Regions from separate parts of the Homo sapiens genome. Here regions 1 and 3 are each linked to region 2. Evidence: promoter capture Hi-C in 16 types of primary human blood cells and fetal thymus (Javierre and others, 2016). All regions are on one chromosome and are shown on one strand. The core of a region is centred on a gene start or on the middle of the fragment in contact, and the rest is flanking DNA. Distances in the headings are between cores, read along the strand shown. Region 1 overlaps MTMR11 (myotubularin related protein 11). Region 2 holds the start of PRPF3 (pre-mRNA processing factor 3). Region 3 overlaps ARNT (aryl hydrocarbon receptor nuclear translocator).

Region 1 (2,700 bases), core at 178-2,677, 390 kb after region 2:
CCAATTCCTCTCATGGAGACAGCGGAAGACTGGGAGACTGAGCGGAAGAAGCAGGCAGCCAGAGGCTGGAGGGTCAGCACGGTCAACGAGAGGTTCGACGTAGCCACCAGGTGATCCCCCAGTGCACCCCAACCCTGCTGCTCTCCCAATCTTCCCTTAGTTCCTTGATCCTCTAAAGCTAGGACTTCCCACAAACTCCAGCCTCCTAGGACACCCACAAAGCTATCTCCCTTGCCTCCTAGATCCCTAAACCTGAAATCCCTTGGAATGGTCCCTCTGAAGCAGCTTCCTTGTAATAAGAGCTTTCCATTATAATGAAGTCACTGAGCCAAACTGTAATATCACTCTCATTTCACAGCCTCCCCCGTTACTTCTGGGTCCCTAACCGAATTCTGGACAGTGAGGTCAGGAGAGCATTTGGCCACTTTCATCAGGGCCGTGGACCGGTCAGTGTGATGGTTAGGGTAATGGCTGTGGATTAGAGGGTCATGTGGGCCAGGGACATCGTGGAGGGAGGAACCTCTGTGAGGTCAGTGTGGGGGCAAGGGTAGCGTGGAGCTAGGCATTTCTCCCACAATGACCCTCTTCTGCCCCATGTGAAGCGCTTGTCCTGGCATCACCCTGGGGGCAGTGATCTTCTCCGCTGTGGAGGCTTCTATACAGCCAGTGACCCTAACAAGGAGGATATCAGGTGAGGGAGGCTTGATGAGAAGAATCAAGGGTTAGGTGCTCAGGGTAGACTCCTTATTTCCTGACTCCCTCCCCTCCAGAGCAGTGGAGTTGATGCTCCAGGCTGGGCATTCAGATGTTGTCCTGGTAGACACTATGGATGAGCTGCCCAGCCTTGCAGATGTCCAACTTGCCCACCTGAGGCTGAGGGCCCTCTGCCTGCCTGGTGAGAATAACCTTTGACCCCTAACCCTCACCCTCACCCCTAGGTCTGCTGAGCCTAACCTGGTTTACCCTTTGCTTGCTGTAGATGAGTAGCTCTTTAGTCCAATGAGCCCGTTTTCTTTTCTTTTCTTTTTTCTTGAGACGGAGTCTCGGCTGGGCATGGTGGCTCACGCTTGTAATCCCACCACTATGGGAGGCCGAGGTGGGCAGATCACTTGAGGGCAGGAGTTCAAGACCAACCTGGCCAACATGGTGAAACCCCGTTTCTACTAAAAATACACACACACACAAAATTAGCTGGGTGTGGTGGCCGATGCCTGTAATCCCAGCTACTTGGAAGGCTGAGGCACAAGAATCGCTTGAACCCAGGAGGCGGGTGAACTGAGAATGTGCCATTGCATTCCAGCCTGGGCGACAAGAGTGAAACTTGTCTTAAAAAAAAAAAAAAAGGCAGATGAGACGGAGTCTCCCTCTGTGGCCCAGGCTGGAGTGCAGTGGCGTGATCTCGGCTCACTGCAACCTCCAACTCCCATGTTCAAGCGATTCTCCTGCCTCAGCCTCCTGAGTAGCTGGGATTACAGGCGCCTGCCACCATGCCTGGCTAATTTTTGTATTTTTAGTAGAGACGAGGTTTCACCATGTTCCCCGTGTTAGACTAGGCTGGTCTCAAACTCCTCAGATGATCCACCCACCAAGGCCTCCTAAAGCGCTGGGATTACAGGCACAAGCCGTCGTGCCCGGCCAGTGAGACTGTTTTCTACTCACCTCCCACCTCTCCCACCTCTCCCACAGACTCACTGGTTTCCTGTCTTCTTGACCCCAATTTATTCTTTAAACAGCTTTATTGAGACATAATGTACATACCATAAAATTTACCCTTCACTGAAGTATACAATTCAGTGAGTTTTATTATATTTACAATGTTGTACAACCATCACCACAGTTTAATTTTAGAAACCATCCTGGCCATTTACAATTACTTTTCATTCCTGTTCTTAACCCAGCAGGCTATCAACCTGAATCCTGAATCCTGAGTTCTAATCTCTTGCCCTTCTGATCTTTCTACCCTCTATCAGATTCATCTGTAGCTGAGGATAAATGGCTTTCAGCCCTGGAAGGAACACGATGGCTGGACTATGTCAGGTACTCCCTCGCTTCTTCTAGCCATCATTTATAATTCAACCTTCCTCAACCTTCTGTTAACTTGGGGTCCTAAATGGCCTTTCTTTAGTTCTTCTCCTCGGTTTCCCAAGAAGACTGCCATTTTCTGCTCTTTAGAAGGAGGAGGGGTAGGATTTGGAGTCGGCCTTATTCCATCCCATGACCCATCAAAATCACTCCATTCCCCTAGGCTTATCATTCTTCCTCCCTCTTCCTCACCTGCTCCTCCAGGGCTTGTCTTCGAAAGGCCAGTGACATTTCAGTATTAGTGACATCCAGGGTTCGTTCTGTAATACTTCAAGGTGAGTTCCTTGGTTAAGCCCATTCCATTCCTTGCCTCTTTTCTTTACCCACCTGACCAGATTGCATTCAGGGAGGGAGACCCATAAGGCTTCTTCCTCTCCTGTTCCTGGGAACTACCTGCGAGCTCTACTCTCATCCTTCAGTGCTACCTCTGCCTCCCCATCACAACTTGTGGTCCCTGACACTAGGATGGTCTTAGCCCCTTTGTTCCTTTCCTTCCATCAGCGGATGGAGACTGGGGTTGGGGTGGGAAGGGCAGTGTGGAAGCTGGTTTGAGAATTGTGATTCTGCCCCTTACATGTGAAACTGGGTATTTCTATCCGGGTGGAGTCCAGGAAGTGA
Region 2 (2,700 bases), core at 39-2,538:
CCCAGCAGTGCCACTTATCAAAGATCTGGGAATCATCTTTCAAGATGTTTTAAGACATCTTTTCTCCAAAAAATCCAGTCTGATTAACTTCTACATTCTTGGTAAGTTTAGCCTCTATACTAGAGTCTATAAGACTTGATGCCAAATAGACTCACTTTTGGTATATCCAAAGGAAGCTAGTAGATTGAAGTGATGAAACTAAGACTGAAAGATTTTCTGCCTCAGTGACAAGTTACGTGAGTAATTCTATGGTGGTTCTATTACCCCACAATGAGTAGACATACAGCGTACCAATTTCTACATATTACACATGTATTGCACAAAAGCGGCATATCCAGATGCCATAGAAAGTGAAAACAAGAGTTCACACAGAAACAGTTGGGACACTGAGCCCCACCATTTACAAGCCCTTGGGCAAGTTAAGTAATTCTTTGGAGCCACAGTTTACCATCTTACAAAATGAGTACTGCCATATTTACATCCTAATTCATTCAATAAATATTTATTGAGTAACTACTAAGTGTCAAGCAATGTACTAGGTGCGGTGGATACATAAAACAGTGAGCAAAACTAACAAGAGTCCTCACCTTAACGGGTCTTATATTCCACTAGAATTGAATGATAGGCTAGAAAGTATAAGCAATTTGAAAGCCCAAAGCAATAAATGAGGTGCCACTGTTACCTCCATAAGATGACGTGCAAACTAAACAGCCAATGGATAAAAAAGTTTCAAACGGTAATTAGCCTTGTCACTAATCAAATGCTCAACAATAACTGCGAGGTGCGGGGGTAGTGGGGGTGCGGAAGGAAAGCGAGGTACAATGATCTCTCCTCTCAATGAGCAGGCAGCAGAATCCAAATCCAGTCTTCAGAAGGAATTCCTTACTCCGTGCTCTTGTTTGCTACAACCTGAGTTTCCCTCTGCAGCCCCCCACTCCCCCGCTAATCTTCATTTTTACTCTCTCCGTCACTCCAACCAGTCTCTTACTCTACCTTGTTCTACCTAAACTCCTCACCCCAGAGCTGGTCTCCCAACCCGGTCTCCTTCCCGCCCCCGCCCTTTTCCTCTCAACAATCTCATTCCAACCTCTTCTCCCACCAAACCAGGTACTCCTTTCACACTCCTTCCCGCTGAACCCTCCCGCTTCGGTCCTCCCCTTGGACTGAGTCCCCGGCCACAGTGGCGCGGACTGGAATTACCCTCTGTGGGCCCGGGGCCACTACTCACCTCACAAACTTCAGCCCCTGAGACGGAGCCCGAACGTTACACCGGAACCGGAAACCTTCTGACCGCCCTACGGCGTGCCGTCGCTACCGCCACCGCCGCCGCCACGCCGCTGTCTCCCAACACGTGACCAAGGAGGGCCGGGCCGCCAATTCGCGCAGCCGTATTTGCCACTTTCTTGGAGGCTGAACGCATGCGTCGCAGAACCGAAAAGTTTCCCTGAGCAATTTCCTTGCTTTCTATTTCCCAGGCTAAACCTATTAGCTAGATTTCTGCCAAGGTTTTTTTTTTAGCTTTTTTTTTGAGACGGAGTCTCGCTCTGTCGCCCAGGTTGGAGTGCAGTGACGCGATCTCGGCTCACTGCGAGCTCCGCCTCCCGGGTTCACGCCATTCTCCTGCCTCAGCCTCCCGAGTAGCTGGGACTACAGGCGCCCGCCACCACGCCCGGCTGATTTTTTGTATTTTTAGTAGAGCCGGGGTTTCACCGTGTTAGCCAGGATGGTCTCGATCTCCTGGCCTCGTGATCCGCCCGCCTCAGCCTTCCAAAGTGCTGGGATTACAGGCGTGAGCCACCGCGCCCGGCCGATTTCTGCCAAGTTAATGTCTTTAACTTCCTGAAGCGGAAATTGGGCTACTTGCTGTTTTCCTCATATGGAGAATAAGTGCGCAAAAGTAAACTTAGGCTAGAATGAAGAGCGAGGCTTCTGCGTTTGTGTTCAAACACAGCCTTTCTGGTAGAAAGTAAACCCTTTCTCCCTAATTTAACAGTGGTGTCAGGCCGGGCGCCGTGGCTCACGCCTGTAATCCCAGCACTTTGGGCTCAATAAATGACAAGTGAGACCTACCAGTATTGTTTTCTCCATTCTATCAATAGGTCTATATATTAACTTCTCTCCAAAATGAGGCTCTAACCTACTGACCCTTTATTTTTTATTTTTATTTTTTATTTTTTGAGACGGAGTCTCGCTCTGTCGTCAGGCTGGAGTGCATTCGGCTCACTGAAACTTCCGCCTCCCGAGTAGATGGGACTACAGGCGCGCGACCACCACGTCCAGCTAACTTTTGTATTTTTAGTAGAGACGGGGTTTCACCATGTTGGCCAGGATGGTCTCCATCTCTTGACCGCGTGATCCGCCCACCTCGGCCTCCCAAAGTGCTGGGATTACAGGGTTGAACCACCGCGCCCGGCCCCTACTGACTCTTTAAATCGATGATTCATAACAACATGTGTGTGGACAAAGATAGTTTGGAAAAAGATTGTCCAGTATTATGACACAATTTCTTATATGAGAAATGGAAAAAATTCCATTATTTTTATATTATAAACTATCCAAACTAAAGTTCCAAAATGTCTTCTTGGTGGTAGGCTGACTAGAAGATGCAGTTGTTCTTCAGGGAGGTTATTCACATTCCCCAGATAGTAGGAGATTTTTGTATCTAAAGATAACAATGTACATACCAAGCCCCACCTTCCC
Region 3 (2,700 bases), core at 199-2,698, 510 kb before region 2:
GTGCAGTGGCATGATCTTGGGTCATTACAACCTCTACCTCCTGGGTTCAAGCGATTCTCATGCCTCAGTTTCCTGAGTAGCTGGATTGCCACCACAGCTGGCTAATTTTTGTATTTTTAGTAAAACAGTGTTTCACCATGTTGGCCAGGCTGGCCTCAAACTCTTGACCTCAAGTGATTCGCCTGCGTCAGCCTCCCAAAGTGCTGAGATTACAGGCCTGAACCACTGCACCCAGCGTGTAATTTAGAGTAGCTTCTAGACCCAGACTGCTGGATTTTGTTTTAATCCATATTCTATGGATTTGAATTCTAGCTTTGATGCTATCTTCTGAAACCTTGGATGATTACATGACTACATTGTGCTTTGATTTCATCATCTCACATTGGCGATAATGTTAATACTGACTTTATAAAGTTGTTATGAAGATTAGATGAATTAATATATGTAAAGATATTTAGAACAGAGCATGACACATATTAACCCTATGTAAGTTTTATTTTTGTTTTAAAGGATAGGGAGAGGGAAAGTAGCATTGGCAGGAGTATCCCAATATGTGGACATGGCTAATGCAAAGACATAGGCAAGAGCAAGATAATAATGAACTGTAGCAATTACATTAAGTTGTGGTTAATGTAGAGCAGGAGTAAGCAAACCACAGCCCTTTATTTGTAAATAAAGTTTTATTGGAACATAGCCATGCCCATATTTTTACATATTATCTATGGCTATTTTCATGCTATAATGCTAGAGTTGACTAGTTGCAACAGACTTTCTGGCCCGCAAAGCTGAAAATATGTACTATCTGGTCCTTTACAGAAAAAGCTTGCCAACTCTTGATGTTGAGAATGTTTGCATATGAAGAACATATGGAACATTTTGACTTCAAATTCTAAAAGTTTTAGAAATACTAAACTTGACCTATCTTTATCCTTCATTATTAGTAGCATTACCAATTTTCTATGTCTGGTTGTATCCAGAGCATGTTATTCTGCTATTACTGTGGAAAGTTCTTTGATAGGGCAGTCTGATTGCTTTTAATCTCTTTATTCCTTGAAACAGGTGTGGCAGTAGCTCTGTGGACCCAGTTTCTGTGAATAGGCTGAGCTTTGTGAGGAACAGATGCAGGTGAGATCCTAAGTGGTGAAAACCAAAGGGATGGCCAAATACCTGCAGAGATCATCACATTTTTACCTGTCTTACTGTAGTCGTTCCTTCAGCAGCTCTCACTTGCATCCCTTACCTCCCACTTAACATCCCTTACCTCCCACTTACTTTTTTTCTGGCAATATTTTCCTAAACTTCTAAAACTTCTCTTGAAAATCCTGTTTAAGGAAGTCGCTATGCTATTTTACCTACTTTCCTCCTACTGCATACCTTTTGGTTACTTTACTTTGGCAAGGGTAAAAATGTGGCGGTCATTTTTGGGTGGGAAAGATGATTATCCTGTTTTCTAAACTCCTAAGAGCATAAACTTAAAAGTACTAAGGCAGCATTGCCCTTTGAGTTTTACGGGTAGATTTTTTTTTTTTTTTTCAAACTCCTGTAACTCTTCTAGGAATGGACTTGGCTCTGTAAAGGATGGGGAACCTCACTTCGTGGTGGTCCACTGCACAGGCTACATCAAGGCCTGGCCCCCAGCAGGTAAGAAAGTGAAATAGTAAATATTTCCCCTTGGTACAGTTGGTTCCTCACAGAGTCCATGAAAGCTAATATTTATTATATACCTGGTATATGAAATGTACTTTTGTGTAAGATGAAAGAAAATAGGAAAAGAAAATGTACAATCCTTCCCTTCCATTATTGAGCTTTTATTCCAGTTGAGGAGATAGATAACTCAGGCTGGAAAATGATTCAGTATTGGCTGTGTCACAGAATGTGGTTTTTATGTGAACAAATTTATACTGAACATATGTATTCTAAGCATTTGTTGCAAAGAAACTTAGACATTGAATGCAGTTAATTTGAGAAAGATTTCTAAAGTAGGAACAAGACTTTGAGAGAAAAGGGGAAAATGCCTTTATTGTAATAACTTATCAAGAGGATATTCTCTGCAAAGACTTTAAATCAAGCTTTGAGCAGATTAGCTTTACCAGAACTTGAGGTCAAACAAGGAATGTGAGAAAGGTGATTGGGTTGCAGGATCAAAGTTTTAAGTTGGCTTGTCAGAGTTTCCAAATCTTAGCAACTTTATTACTTCCCTGCTGCCTGGGTATTATTGGAAAGTAGGGGTTTTGGGGAGACAGAAACTAAGAGAAAAGAGAAGCAAGGTGATGTGTTTTGGAAAAAGGTTAAACTTTGGATGTGGAGAAACCTGGATGTGATTCCTGTCATTGTTACTTATTAGTGGCATCACCTAGGGTAAGTTGCTTGACCTTTATAAAGCTCAGTTTTCTCATCTGTAATTCAGAGTTAGTACATCCTGTATAGGGTTTTTGTGAGGATTAGATTTAATGTAAGGAAAGCATCCAGCCCAGTGCCTGGCATATGGCAGGTAACCCAATAAAAGTAATTAATGTAATTTAAAAAAATTTAACTGAAGTAGTAATGACATTTGAACTACTTAGTCTATATACTATATAAGCCACACAGTTAAAGTATGTGATCTTTCATACCTCTATGTAGCATCAAGGAATACTATTTTTCTGGATAAAAAGAGTATAACTATGCAAAAAACAGGGGAGAAATGCAGTCTTCTTCCCT

The links. The method cuts DNA at HindIII sites, captures the fragments that hold promoters and counts their contacts. A CHiCAGO score of 5 or more calls a contact.
Region 1: a contact is called between a fragment that was not itself captured here and the fragment with the promoter of PRPF3 in region 2, in 1 of 17 cell types (neutrophils). The highest score is 5.1, in neutrophils.
Region 3: a fragment that was not itself captured here is called in contact with the fragment with the promoter of PRPF3 in region 2 in 1 of 17 cell types (monocytes); the score reaches 5.6 in monocytes.

What each region holds. Positions count from the first base shown.
Region 1 is chr1:149,931,601-149,934,300 of GRCh38, reverse strand. It overlaps MTMR11 (myotubularin related protein 11), which reads left to right. Exons shown (of 17, transcript NM_001145862.2): 7 at 1-110; 8 at 359-446; 9 at 603-691; 10 at 771-895; 11 at 1,971-2,037; 12 at 2,287-2,357. Among named protein-coding and RNA genes, the nearest start is that of MTMR11, 3.9 kb to the left of the region's middle. The HindIII fragment of the contact is 5,928 bases long and covers 1-2,700 here.
Region 2 is chr1:150,320,121-150,322,820 of GRCh38, reverse strand. PRPF3 (pre-mRNA processing factor 3) reads right to left here and starts at 1,288. Exons shown (of 16, transcript NM_004698.4): 1 at 1,229-1,288. RefSeq lists enhancers at 1,190-1,239, 1,430-1,479, 1,609-2,174. The HindIII fragment of the contact is 20,070 bases long and covers 1-2,700 here.
Region 3 is chr1:150,830,759-150,833,458 of GRCh38, reverse strand. ARNT (aryl hydrocarbon receptor nuclear translocator) reads left to right here. Exons shown (of 22, transcript NM_001668.4): 9 at 1,060-1,125; 10 at 1,556-1,641. Among named protein-coding and RNA genes, the nearest start is that of CTSK, 24 kb to the right of the region's middle. The HindIII fragment of the contact is 1,247 bases long and covers 825-2,071 here.